Regions from separate parts of the Homo sapiens genome. Here regions 1, 2, 3 and 4 are each linked to region 5. The links are contacts of gene promoters, found by promoter capture Hi-C in blood cells and fetal thymus (Javierre and others, 2016). All regions are on one chromosome and are shown on one strand. The core of a region is centred on a gene start or on the middle of the fragment in contact, and the rest is flanking DNA. Distances in the headings are between cores, read along the strand shown.

Region 1 (2,700 bases), core at 38-2,537, 410 kb before region 5:
TGCAGTGGCACAATCTTCCCTTAATGCAACCTCTGCCTCCCGGGTTCAAGTGATTTTCCGGCCTCAGCCTCCCAAGTAGCTGGGATTACAGGTGTGCACCGCCACACCCAGCTAATTTTTGTATTTTTAGTAGAGATGGGGTTTCACCATGTTGGCAGGCTGGTCTTGAACTCCTGACCTCAAGGCCCACCTCAGTCTCCCAAAGTGCTGGGATTACACACTTGAGCCACCATACCCAGCTAAGACCTATTTATTTAGGTCTTGAATTTCTGTCAACAGTTCTGTAGTTTTCAATCTACAAGTGTTCGTAGATTGGAAAATTTATTATTAAAATGGTAATACTTCCCAGAGCAACCTATAGATTCCATACAATTCCTATTAAAATTCCATTATCCTTTTTTTTTGCAGAAATGGCCAAGAAAAATTCATAAGGAATTACAAAGATCATGAATAACAAAAACAATCTTGAAAAAGCTACAGTACTCAAGACAATGTGATAATGACATAGGATAGACATAGAAATCAATGGGATAGAATTGAGAGTCTGGATATAAACCCAAGCAAATATGGTCAATTGGTTTTCAACAAGGGTGCCAAGACCATTCAATGGGGGAAAAATAGTCTTTTCAACAAATGGTGCTGGGACGACTTGGATATCCACATGCAAAGTAATAAATTAGGAACACTATCTCACACTACGTAAAAATTAAAATGGATCAAAGGCCTAAATGTAAGCTAAAACTAAAAAGCTCTTAGAGCATAAGGAGAAATCTCTGTGACCTTGGATTAAGCAACAGTTTCTTAAATATGACACCAATGCACAAGCAAGCAAAAGAAATAAGTTGGTCTTCGTCAAAATTTAAAACTCTTGGCCGGGTGTGGTGGCTCACGCCTGTAATTCCAGCACTTTGGGAGCCAGAGGCAGGCAGATCATCTGAGGTCAGGAGTTTGAGACCAGCCTGGCCAACATGGTGAAACCCCATCTCTAGCAAAAATATGAAAAATTAGCCAGGCGTGGTGGCATTTGCCTGTAATTCCAGCTACTCAGGAGGCTAAGGCCTGAGACTAACAAATCTCGGCAAAGATATGGACAAATAAAAATCCTCACACATTGCTAGTGCGAATATAAAGTGGTGCAGCTGCTTTGGAAAAGCTTGGCAGTTCCTCAAATAGTTGAACATAAGAGTTATCAGGACCTAGCAATTCCACTACTAGGTGTATAACCAAGAGAATAAAAAAGCAATGTTCACACAAAAATTTGTACATGCATATTGATAGCAACAATATTTATAATAGCCAAGAAGTAGAAACACTCCAAACATCCATCAACCAATAAATGGATAAACAAAATGTGGTTTATTCCTGTTAGATATGTTAACTATCTTGACCGTGGTAATAATTTTATTAATATATATATATGTCAAGCTTTATCGAATTGTGTATTTTAAATATGTGTGGTTTATTGCATGCCAATCATAACTCAATAAAGCTGTAAAAACATAAAAAGTATATCCATCCAATGCAATATTATTCCGTCATAAAATGGAATGAAGTACTGATACTGCATGGATGAACCTTGAAAACATTATTCTAATTGAAAGAAGCCACACAGGTCACATATTATATGATTCCATTTATCCGAAATGTCCAGACTAGGCAAATTCATAGATACAGAAAGTAGATTAGTGGTTGCCAGTGGCTGGAGGAAGAGAGAGGGGAGTGATTGCTAATGGAGTCAAGGTTTCTTGGTGGGGTGATTAAAATGTTCCAGGATTAGCGGTAATGGTTGCATAATTTGTGAATATACTAAGAACCACAGAACCGTACACTTCATAAGGGTGAAAATGAATTACAGGCCAGGCACGGTGGCTTACGCCTGTAATCCCAGCATTTTGGGAGGCCAGGGCGGGTGAATCACTTGAGGCCAGGAGTTCAAGACCAGCCCGGCCAACATGGTGAAACCCTGTCTCTACTAAAAATACAAAAATTAGCCGGGCGTGATGGCACATGCCTGTAATCCCAGCTAGTCAGGAGGCTGAAGCAGGAGAATCGCTTGAACCCAGGAGGCGGAGGTTGCAGTGAGTCAAGATCACACCACTGTACTCCAGCCTGGGCAACAGAGTAAGACCCTGTCTCAAAAAAACCAGACAAACAAACAAACAACAACAAAAAGAAAATGAATTATATCACAATAAAAATATACCAAGTTTTTGTAATATAAATATATATATATATATAGGGGGATCACTTGAACCCAGGAGTTTGAGAGTACAGTGAGCTCTGATCATGTCACTGCACTCCAGCCTGGGTGACAGAGCAAGATCCAGTCTCAAAAAAAGAAAGGAAATCAGAAATAATTTCAATAACTAAATGTCAAAGGGAAATAGAAAGTATCAGGGAAAATGGAGGTGAATAGAAAATCATGATTAGAAAACCGCACTAATAATACTGCAGTCAAGATCCATGGATGAATGCTAAGATTAGTCGGGAAAATGATATTTGCATAGCCTCAAAAAACCTACCTCCAGATGTATAAATTTCTTTGATACCTCTCTCTTCTAGAGGTTTTCTTTCCTTCCCCTTGAGTATGGGCTGGACTTAGTGACCCGCTTCTAACAGAAGGTATGGCAAAAATACCTGGCAAATATCACTTTAACTTTAAAAGTGATCAAGGTTAACACCACCAGTTATAAGTTATGT
Region 2 (2,700 bases), core at 3-2,502, 450 kb before region 5:
ACATACACCCTTGTGTAACTCCCTATCCCCTTGCACGTGGGCAGGACCTGTGACTAGAATACTACAGAAAATGTGACAGGTTGTCACTTCATAAGTATATTACCTAAGACTATAAGGTCTGTCTTACTAGGAGACACACTCCCTTGCTGGCTTTGAGGAAGCAAGCAGTCATGTCAGGAAGGCCCAAGAGACAAGTAACTAAGAACAGCCTCTGGCCAATAGCCAGCAAAAAATTGAGGACCCAATGAATCTAGACAGATCTTATACTTTTCACAAAAATAAACTCAAAATGGTTCACAGACTTAAACATAAAATGCAAAACTATGAAACTCCCAGAAGATAACATAGGGTAAAATCCAGGTGGATCTTGGATTTGGCAGTGACTTTTAAAATACACCAAAGGTATAATCCGTGAAAGAGAAAATTGATAAGCAGGACTTCATTAAACTTAAAAATCTCTGCTCTGTGAAAGACCCTGTAAGAGAATAAAAAGACAAGCCACAGATCAGGAGAGTATATTTGCAAAAGATAGCTCTGATAAAGGATCAAAGAATACTTCAAACTCAACAGTAAGGATAAAAAGAACACTTAAAACTCAACAATAAGAAAACAATTTAAAAATAGACCAAGAACTCGGCCGGGCGCGGTGGCTCATGCCTGTAATCCCAGCACTTTGGGAGGCAGAGGTGGGCGGATCATGAGGTCAGGAGATCGAGACCATCCTGGCTAACACGGTGAAACCCCGCCTCTACTAAAAATACAAAAAATTAGCCGGGCGTGGTGGCGGGCGCCTGTAGTCCCAGCTACTCGGGAGGCTGAGGCAGGAGAATGGCGTGAACCCGGGAGGCAGAGCTTGCAGTGAGCTGAGATCGCGCCACTGCACTCCAGCCTGGACAACAAAGCGAGACTCCGTCTCAAAAAAAAAAAAAAAAAAAGACCAAGAACTTCATATACACCTCACCAAAAAAAAAAAAAAAAAAAAAAAAAAAAGGCAAAAAAGCATATGAAAAGATGCTCCACATCATATGTCATCAGAGACATGCAAATTAAAATGAGACACCACTATACACCTATTAAAATGGCCAAGACCCAGAACATGGACAATACCAACTTCTGGCAAAGATGTGGAGCAACAGGAATTCTCATTCATTGCTGCTGGCAATATAAAATGGTATAGCCACTTTGGAAGACAATTTGGCAGTTGCTTACAAAAATAAACATACTCTCACCACATAAGCCAGCAAAAACACTATTTGGTATTTAACCAAAGGAGTTGAAAAATAGAGGAGCATGTAAGAGAAACAACTTACCCAGAAAAATATAATAAAAAGTTACTTGACAGATGACAAACATCCTTAAGAAGTATAAGTGTATATGTAAGATATAACAATACATTCAAGGACATGCTTAAAGTCATCCACAGGGAGGTCTTTCAAAGGAAATACTAAAAGTAGAAATCATAAAGGGAAAAAGTTAAGGATGCGTATTTGATAAGAATGCTTATCATAGCATTTTAATAACTTGGAAATAAATTATGATACAATATAACCATTAAAATATGATTATAGAATAGTTAACTAAAAAATATTTAACAAGATATTCATACCAAGTGAAGCACAGGCTACTCAGGAGGCTGAGGCGGGAGAATGGCTTGAACCCAGGAGTTAGAGACTAGCCTGGGCAACACAAGAAAACCCCGTCTCAAAAGGAAGAAAAATTCATACCAGATATAATATACTGTCAACTCTTAACAATAAAAGTGTGTGTGTTATCTTACTTTTATACAGAAGAGAGAGAGAGTGTGTGAGTGTGTGTGTGTGTATACCCAAAATATAAACAATGGTTATCTCTGAGTGATGGAATTATGAGTGCTTTAATTTTCTTCCTTTTGATTTTCAACAATAAACAGTATTGCTTTTGAAAACAATTTAATAAAAAGAGTTTCTCATATACTCATAAAAAATTAATAATAATACAATGAAGGAAAGACACTAGAAGTTCCCACAAATGCCATAAATCACATGCTCAAGAGAAACTAGACTAAGCACTAACCTGATATGTCCAGAAGGCCAGCGCTCGGGAGCTAATGTCCAACACGATCTCTGGTCGCAGTCCTGCCAATACCATAGCTTTATATTCCTCTGATGGACTGAGTTCTGTGCGGACAATATCTAGCTTTCCAGAAAGGGTACTGTTGCAGGCAGGACAGATAGCTGGTGAGCGACTAAACTCACCACTGCCATGCTGATCACAGAAGATGTGAGAGCAGGCAGTGACCCATGCATAGCCAGAGAGTTTGATGCGACACTTTCGATAATTACAAAGCAGCATGTCTTCACACAAAGACATAATAGGATAGTGAGGTCTCCAGAAGCTGAAGAGAGGCCTAAGAAGGGGTAAATAAAAAGGCCAAGTAAGTTAAATTGCAATGAAAATAAAAGTAAAAAAGAAATATAACATGCACGTTTTTATCATAAAATACTGCACATTTTATTATATTCCTTGTATTTATTATAATTGATATATTGATTTCAGTTACTCAATAATATTAATTGTGCTCGTTTGTCCGGTTTTCTAAAAACGCTTTAAGGACAAAGGTAAAGACAAAGGTGGTTACAGATCTTGCTAACGTCAAAAATAATATATACGTGGGCCAGGCTCAGTGGCTCAAGCGTACAATCCCAGCACTTTGGGAAGCCA
Region 3 (2,700 bases), core at 81-2,580, 280 kb after region 5:
CCTCAGCCTCCTGAGTAGCTGAGATTACAGGTATGCACCACCATGCCCGGCTAATTTTTGTATTTTTAGTAAAGACTGGGTTTCACCATGTTGGTCAGGCTGCTCTTGAACTCCTGACCTCATGTTCTGCCTGCCTTGGCCTCCCAAAGTGTTGGGATTACAGGTGAGCCACTGTGCCCAGCCCAGATATCTTTCAAGATCAAATCATACATGGACTGGCAAATCAATCTGCAAATGGGCAGACCCCCGGATTTGAGACAAAAGCATGTTCATCCAAAAGAGTATTAAGTGCCCGTAATCCTGACACGTTGCATTTCTGACCTTCACCTGAATGCTCATATTGTATCATTGAGATGGGAAAAAAACAGTACATGAGGAATTGATGGCAAACTAGTCAAGCATGTCCCTGGCCGTGCCATTGGCTGCTGGAAACATAAATAAGGATATGCAACAAGAAAAAGGGCCTGGACCTCCCATCTGCTACTCCGGACCAGGGTGAAAACATTACAGAGATCCTGTTTGGTGGAGCTCCGGGTGGGCCTGAGATATCCCAAGCATTTATCTTTGGTAAGGGTTACCACTTTTTACCCTTGAATTTGGCATATCCAGAACAGGATCTTCATGGTCAACTAGAACCTGCAGAGCAATGCTTCCCAGAATTTCCCCTGAAGTGCTAGTAACCACAGAGGAAGATGAACTAAAACACCTAAAGTAGTGCCCAATGAGCTTGGGCTTTCTCTGAAGCTTCTTTCACTTAACTAATATTTATAAAATAGCCGTGCATATGAGTGTTTTATATGCTATCTTTAAATTTCATTTGTGGTAATAATAATAATGGATCAATGTCAATTTCCCCTTTTTGGTGGCTGTACTGTGGTTATGCACACGAGAGTACTTGTAATTAGGAAATAGTCACTGAAGTATTAAGGGGTAATGAGCATCATGTCTGTAACTTGTTCTGAAATAGCTCAGAAATGTTAATAATTGGGGAACTGGGTGAAGCATATAGGGGAGCTCTGTGTATGCTTTCTGAAACTTTTATATACGTTTTAAATTATTTCAAAGTGAAAATGCTAAAAAAATTTAATGTAACTCATTTGAATTTTTCTATCATACAAAGTTATTTTCTGTAAAAATAATGCCTTAAATTACTCCCCATCCCCTAAAAAGATGGTTTTAGTAAAATTGTAAAGAACACATTTATCTTGTGACTTTGTGTACCCTCTGCACACATCTGTGTTCCACCTGGGGTAGCAGTACACTGGCTCTAATGTTTTCCTTAACTTGCTCTTTGTGGATTTCTGTCTCTGACCAGTGTTTCTTTTCAAGAACTGGTTGAGGAAGATAGGGTAGTCATGGGGCTAGGGCATTGGAAAGGTCCTTTTCATGCTGAAAAATGAGAAAATAGACATAGAGCACTTGGAACAGTGACTGGAACATAGAAAAGCCTCAGTAAATGTTAACTATGATTGTTTTTATCGTTATGACCCCTATCATTCCTAGCAGGGCTGAAGGCTGCACGCAGCCTTGTTGTGGTAAGTCAGAGGTCTCAGGAGGGCAGCCGGCCTATGAGGGGAACTGGCGTATCCAGGGAGCCATATGCCTCAGCTCTGGTTGGGTTGAAGACTACATCCTCTCCCTCATGAAGATGAATCCAGGAGTGAGGAACAAAGGGAGACAGTCCTCCCGCAGAGACAAGCTCATAGTGCAAATGGGCACCATAGGAAGGCCTCAAAGAACTACATAGAAAAGAAAAATGGACCTGGCAGGAGACAGGGTTAGCCACTGGAAACAGAGGAGGGCTTCCCAAAAGGAATGTGGCCACTGGATTCCATGTGATGGAGCTCTGCTTCTCAGAGCCATAAACCAGGGCCCAGACCACAGGTCTGTCACCACCAGGAGGCTGTTTGAAGGTTGAAGCTTGAAAAACCCTATGGGGGTGGCACTTGTAGTTCAAAGACGACCCTCGTGGTACTGCTGTCCTTCAGGCCAGCAAACCAGGCAAACTTCTCTGGCACCCTCGCTCAGCCCTCCTGGGGTATCCTGAAAGAATGGGTCTTTGGGAGATAGTTGCTTATTCTCTGCTCCCCTTCTTTCAAGGCACCTTCAGAGTCTACTATTAGGCCTCTCCTTCATACTAGTAAGGTGCTGGCTACTTACTAGCACTTTGATGTTTTTTCTTGTGTCACACAAGTGTCAGAACCAGGGGGCATTTTAGACATTATTCAACTGAAACTCCTTGTGTTATAAATAGTAAGAAGACTGAGAGGATCAGAGTGATGACTGAGTTCAATGCACGGTTACTGAGTGCTCCTGTGAGCTAGCCATGTGCCTGGCACTATGAAGACAGAGAAGCACGGAAGGACCTGATTCCTGTCCCACGAGTTTACCGTCTAGTTGGGAAGACTGGATGCTCTTACTGGATGAAAGAGTTAAATAGCAAAACAAGGTAGTACACGATTTAGAACCCAAATGAGTGATACTATGAAACAGTTAATGCTAAAGGAGGTTAGGATTTGTACGGCAAGGTTCGTAAATGTGATCCTGAGCAAACTCATATGGTCAAGATGAGTTCTAAAGGATGGATAATATTTGAGGGAGGACTTGCAGGGAAGAGGGAAACAGAAGCAAAGCTGAAGAGAGCAAAACATGTGCTGGAGACAAAAGGAAAATCAGGTTATTAGGATAGAATTTGGTTAG
Region 4 (2,700 bases), core at 141-2,640, 280 kb before region 5:
TTGTCACCATAGCATTAGATCTACATAAAGAGATGGGGATGGAGAATGTGTAAAAAGGCATCACGTTTAGGTTGAATGAAAAGCCAGAGAGTAGTTAAGTTTGGTGGTAAACAGAAGATGAAAGGAGGTAGTGAAGAACTGTCTTCTATTAATATTATTATTATGATTTTTTTAAGAGATAGAATCTTGATCTGTTACCCAGGCTCTGTGGAATGCACTAGTATGATCATAGCTCTCTGCATCCTTGAACTCCAAGGCTCAAGCAATCCTCTTGCCTCAAACTCCTGAGTAGCTGGGACTACAGGCACATATCACCACACCCAGCTGATTAAAAAAAATTTTTTTTGTAGAAACAAAGTCTTGCTATGTTGCCCAGGCTGGTCTCGAATTCCTGGCCTCAAGTGATCCTAGCACCTCGGCCTCCTAAAGTATTGGGATTACAGGCATGAGCCAACGTACCTGGCCTTATATTATTTTTAAACTTATTTATATAGAAGAATCAAATTTACTCTGTGCAACTTTGGAGAGTTGACTAGGACAGGAGAGCCCACTCAATATTAGAAAAAGAGCTCTACAAAAAAGACATTGTTACGTTACATTCCTGAAATGTTGAAATAGGGGCTAGAGGAATATTTGACAAAGCTGTAGAGAGAAATAGTTGACCTTATGACCTCTAAAATTCTTTTCAAGATATTTTATCTGCAAAAACCTGAATAGCAACAACTATAGTTCCACAACACTCTAGTTCTACAGAAGGAGGGTGGGATGTTACACTGTGCTTTCATGTTTCAATAATTATATATCTATCCATGCATGTCCACTTCTGCTTGATGCCACTGAAGTGGGACCTGAGGAGCTGGGGTGCTAGGGCAGAAAGAGTAAGGTCTGTGCCCGATCCTAGACAAAAGTGGAAGCAATTCACTGCTTCATCCATCACGGAAGGGCAACTCTTTAGCTTAGCAAACTGAGAAATTTTCAGGCTCAACACCAGCAGGAATTCAATTTGCAGCAAGATAGACCTCAGGGGATTGAGGCAATGATTCAGAGAGGATGGGTGGGGTAGGGTTACACAGGAACTTTAGAGAAAGAATCGTTTGTGGGTGGAAGCCTTGGGCAGAGGTGCACTCAGTAGAGAAGAAAGCCATTTGTTCCAGAACAGCAGTTTGAAAGGGGTGTGTTTTGTGTGGGCAATGGTGTATGAGGAAAGGGTTTGTGGGGAAGAAGCGTGTGGGGCTACTAACAGGCACAGAAACACTTGTTGAGAAATGTTGTTCATAGGGGGATTGCTTTGCTGGGGCCCAGGAGCAGGTGGTTTGGTGCAGTGAAAGAGGCCAGAGGGGCAGAAAGAAGGGTCCTAGCTGTGGCCTTAAACACACACATACACACACACACACACACACACACCAAAAAGCAAGGAAGAACCCCTTATCCTCTCAGCCAAGATAAGCAAGCGCTGTTACCAGCTAGGTGTGCTTACTATGGATTTTATACATTTTAGAGAAAATTTCTAATGCCCATTTGTCCTGAACTTTTTACTTGGAATATCGTTAAGTTTACGGAAAAGTAGAAAGGATCATGTAATGAACACTAGTGTACCTCTCACCTAAACCATCAATAGTCAATAATCTGCTACATACATTTGTTTTCTCCTGAGCCATTTGAAAGTAAATTGCTGCAGACAATTTGCCTATCAGTCCATTTTTGAATATATTGGCACGCATCTCTAAGAATAAGGACATTCTCTTACATAATAGCATTGCCATTATGAAGATCTTACCTATGAAGATCCACATTAATTCATAAGATCTGCATGTGTGTTACTTATCAGTACGTCTTATAATGGATTCTGAATGCTTTCCCTTTTCTTATTTCTCTAGCTGTCATCTTTGAAGGTAAAACCTCGACTGCATATCTGGCCAGCCAGGCCAGGCCAAAGTACCTGTATACTGGGTGAGGGGATAAGAAAGACTCTCTCAAAGAGCACAGGAACCTGGAAGCCTGTCAGAGGTCACCTCTCACGGAAGCCCAGGACGCTTCCTTCCTGCTGAGCTAATCTTAACTGCTGACCTCCACGCATTGCTCAGGGCTCCCTCCCTCCCTTCTTCCCTATTTCCTTCCTTCCCTTTCCTCTCCTTTCCTGTCTCTTTCACCAAACCTTAACGGACAACTCTTCTGTGCTAACTTCTGTGCCAGTGTATTAGTCCGTTTTCATGTTGCTGATAAAGACATATCAGAGACTGGGAAGAAAAGGTGGTTTAATTTGACTTACAGTTCCACATGGCTGGGGAGGTCTCACAATCATGGCAGAGGGTGAAAGGCACTTCTTACTTGGAGGAGGCAAGAGGGAATGAGGAAGATGCAAAAGTGGAAACCCCTGATAAAACCATCAGATCTCGTGAGACTTATTCACTACCACGACCAAACCATATCAGCCAGTATCTGCCATCCCAAGTGAACTTAGTCTGTGAACTCAAAATAGTGCTGGCCAGGCATGGTGGCTCACGTCTGTAATCCCAGCGCTTTGGGCGGCCAAGGCGGGGGGATCATGAGGTCAGGAGATCGAGACCATCCTGGCTGACATGGCGAAACCCTGTCTCCACTAAAATACAAAAAAATTAGCAGGGCATGGTGGCACATGCCTGTAGTCCCAGCTACTAAGGAGGTTGAGGCAGAAGAATGGAAGAATGGCTTGAACCCAAG
Region 5 (2,700 bases), core at 14-2,513:
AACATAGCTAAATATTTTTCTTCCAGACCTTCCAATCCTAAAGATATTAATTAAGATCTGAAAGGGAAACATTTGTCATCTATTGTCTCTAAGGGCAGCCACTATAAGACTTCGAAAGAATTGGTCTCTACCATCTTTATTTTAACCTGAATATTCCCTTTCTATCAATCTCAGGTCTTTAGACAAAACTAGTTGTCAACCAGAAAATGTTTAAATACACCTATGGCCTGGAGGCCCTCCACTCCCCATCAGCTTTGAGTTGTCCCGCCTTGCTGGACCAAACCAATGTATTTCTTAAATGTATTTGATTGATGTTTCATGCCTCTCTAAAATGTATAAAACCAGCTGTGCTCCAACCACCTTGGGCACATGTCCTCAGGACCTCCTGAGAGCTGTGTCATAGGCCATGGTCACTCATATTTGGCTCAGAATAAATCTCTTCAAATATTTTACAGAGTTTGACTCTTTTTTTTTTCTTTTCTTTTGTTTTGAAATGGTGTTTTGCTCCTGTTGCCCAGGCTGGAGTGCAATGGCGTGATCTCGGCTCACTGCAACCTCTGCCTCCCAGGTTCAAGCGATTCACCTGCCTCGGCCTCCCAAGTAGCTGGGATTACAGGTGCCCACCACCACGCCCAGCTAATTTTTGTATTTTTAGTAGAGATGGGGTTTCACCACCTCGGCCAGGTAGGTCTTGAACTCCTGACCTCAGGTGATCCTCCCGCCTTGGCCTCCCAAAGTGCTGGGATTACAGGCGTGAGCCACCACACCCAGCTGACTCGTTTCATCGACAATAACAAACTGCCTAGTAAAACTTCAGATACTGGCTACCTAATCATAACTATCTGGCCACCAGTTTCACTAGATACTCTTTCACCTCTCAACGAAAGTCCCACAGTTCACAATGTTATAAGTGGCTTTCTTCAGAGAAGTTTCTGTGTAACATAGCATAACCCTCCAGGGACTTCCCAGAACTTTGTCAGAAATTGAGTGCAGAAGCCAGGTCTCTCGTTGTCTACTGATAGCACCAGATAACCCCTTTCTGGGGTCACCTCACTCTAGGGTCTTGCACTTCTTCTGTGCCCTGGAGTCAGCCTTTGATGTTTGTAGCCTTTGCTTGAGGCCACTGTCTGAATAAACTCAAGTGTTCCAGATGAGAAGATACAGGAACAAGTTCACATAATAAGGCTATTCCCCATCACCACCTCCACTACCAATCAGCTGGAGCCTTGCAGCTCCCCCTGCTATTCCTTTCTCCACTGCTGCAGATTTCCAGGGCCCTGAGGAAAGGAGGACTCAGACTCTGCTCTTCAGATCCACACACTGATCCCAACTACAACCAGTGACCTGAACTTGGAGTCTGAGTAGGGTAAGAAGGGCTCTGCTGAGGATGTTTGGGGGACAGCCAGGAGCACTGAAAGGAGGCTGATTGAACTTTTAGATAGCAAACAATGGAGAAGGATCCAAATCATGGAAAACAAAGGTGTGAATTCTGGTCAGCCTCAGTCCCACTGATACAGGCTTTCCCTGCCCCTCCCTTCCTTCACCCCCAGTCTTCTCAAACACAATGCATTAAAACCGCTTACATCCTGCTCTTCTATCCTCTGTAGGTCTTTATCATCAGGACAGGGTTCCACAGATAGGAAGTACCGACCCTTTGTTCTGTGTCTGATGTGGACATTTGACATCATTAGAAGTGCTCTCAAATACATGCGTCTCATTAGACACTTGCAGGTCTGTAGGGAGCTATTATTAAGTCCATCTGAGGACACCAATGCTCAGAGTTGTGAATCAGGTTAGAGATTCAGTAAGGGCGGGAACACTTCTCATGGTAAATGAGGACAGAGCACTAGTTTAAACGGTAGACTCTTTCAAAAAGATCCCCACACTCCATGCTATCACCACAGAAGCCACTGTGGGGGCTCTTTTAGTCTTGGTGCTTGATTGATTACAGGAATATTTCAAATCTGGAATTCTGGTTGGGTGTAGTGGCTCATGCCTGAGAATCCCAGCACTTTGGGAAACCGAGGTGGGTAGATTACTTGAGGCCAGGATTTTGATACTAGCCTGGCCAACATGGCGAAACATTGTCTCTACTAAAAAAAATACAAAAATTAGCTGTGTGTGGTGGCAGGCACCTATAATCTCAGCTACGTGGGAGGCTGAGACAGAGAATCTATTGAACCCTGGAGGTGAAGGTTGCAGTGAGCCAAGACTGTGCCACTGCACTCCAGCCTGGGTGACACAGTGAGACTCTGTCTCAAAAATAAATAAACAAATAAAAACCTCAAAACTGGAGTTATTTTATGATGACATTTTCAAGGAGCAGCTCTGACAAACCAAGATCATTTGTAATAGTGATAATTAGGGGAATGACCCCTGAGAAGGAATATGGGTAGTTAGTAATGAACATACGTTCCACTCAGGCTTTGGAGAAAGTGTTATAAGGAAGTCAAGATTGGAGAAGCATCATTAAGTAATTGGAGAAGCAGGCAAGAAGTAATTGCAGGCTAGGCTGTCATTTTAGCGAATCGAAGCCTTCCTACCTAGGAACCACTTCCCAAGTAGTTACTCATTTTCTACATTTCCCTAAAATCTGACAACCCTTTCCACTTCAAGGACATAAACCTTAAAATATCATTCTCTTTTGGACACATGATCTCCTGAGAGTTGGTCTGGTAAAAAGGAGCCAGCTGGAGGGTG

The links. Contacts are between HindIII fragments. The CHiCAGO score rates a contact against its expected background, and 5 or more counts as called.
Region 1: a fragment that was not itself captured here is called in contact with the fragment with the promoter of EDDM3B in region 5 in 1 of 17 cell types (total B cells); the score reaches 5.9 in total B cells.
Region 2: a fragment that was not itself captured here is called in contact with the fragment with the promoter of EDDM3B in region 5 in 1 of 17 cell types (neutrophils); the score reaches 5.3 in neutrophils.
Region 3: a fragment that was not itself captured here is called in contact with the fragment with the promoter of EDDM3B in region 5 in 1 of 17 cell types (M1 macrophages); the score reaches 5.1 in M1 macrophages.
Region 4: a contact is called between a fragment that was not itself captured here and the fragment with the promoter of EDDM3B in region 5, in 1 of 17 cell types (M2 macrophages). The highest score is 5.0, in M2 macrophages.

Annotation. Positions count from the first base shown.
Region 1 is chr14:20,360,567-20,363,266 of GRCh38, forward strand. No RefSeq gene overlaps it. Among named protein-coding and RNA genes, the nearest start is that of PARP2, 18 kb to the left of the region's middle. The HindIII fragment of the contact is 272 bases long and covers 1,152-1,423 here.
Region 2 is chr14:20,314,175-20,316,874 of GRCh38, forward strand. CCNB1IP1 (cyclin B1 interacting protein 1) reads right to left here. Exons shown (of 7, transcript NM_021178.5): 5 at 2,053-2,386. The coding sequence starts at 2,349. Among named protein-coding and RNA genes, the nearest start is that of SNORA79B, 7.8 kb to the right of the region's middle. The HindIII fragment of the contact is 4,318 bases long and covers 1-2,700 here.
Region 3 is chr14:21,049,890-21,052,589 of GRCh38, forward strand. It overlaps a transcript of NDRG2 not described here. Among named protein-coding and RNA genes, the nearest start is that of RNASE8, 6.6 kb to the right of the region's middle. The HindIII fragment of the contact is 1,176 bases long and covers 743-1,918 here.
Region 4 is chr14:20,488,672-20,491,371 of GRCh38, forward strand. No RefSeq gene overlaps it. Among named protein-coding and RNA genes, the nearest start is that of RNASE10, 16 kb to the right of the region's middle. The HindIII fragment of the contact is 5,077 bases long and covers 1-2,700 here.
Region 5 is chr14:20,767,141-20,769,840 of GRCh38, forward strand. It overlaps EDDM3B (epididymal protein 3B), which reads left to right and starts at 1,264. Exons shown (of 2, transcript NM_022360.5): 1 at 1,264-1,366. All of the region lies in intron 1 of LOC107984671 (a long non-coding RNA gene), which reads right to left. RefSeq lists an enhancer at 972-1,251. The HindIII fragment of the contact is 10,803 bases long and covers 1-2,700 here.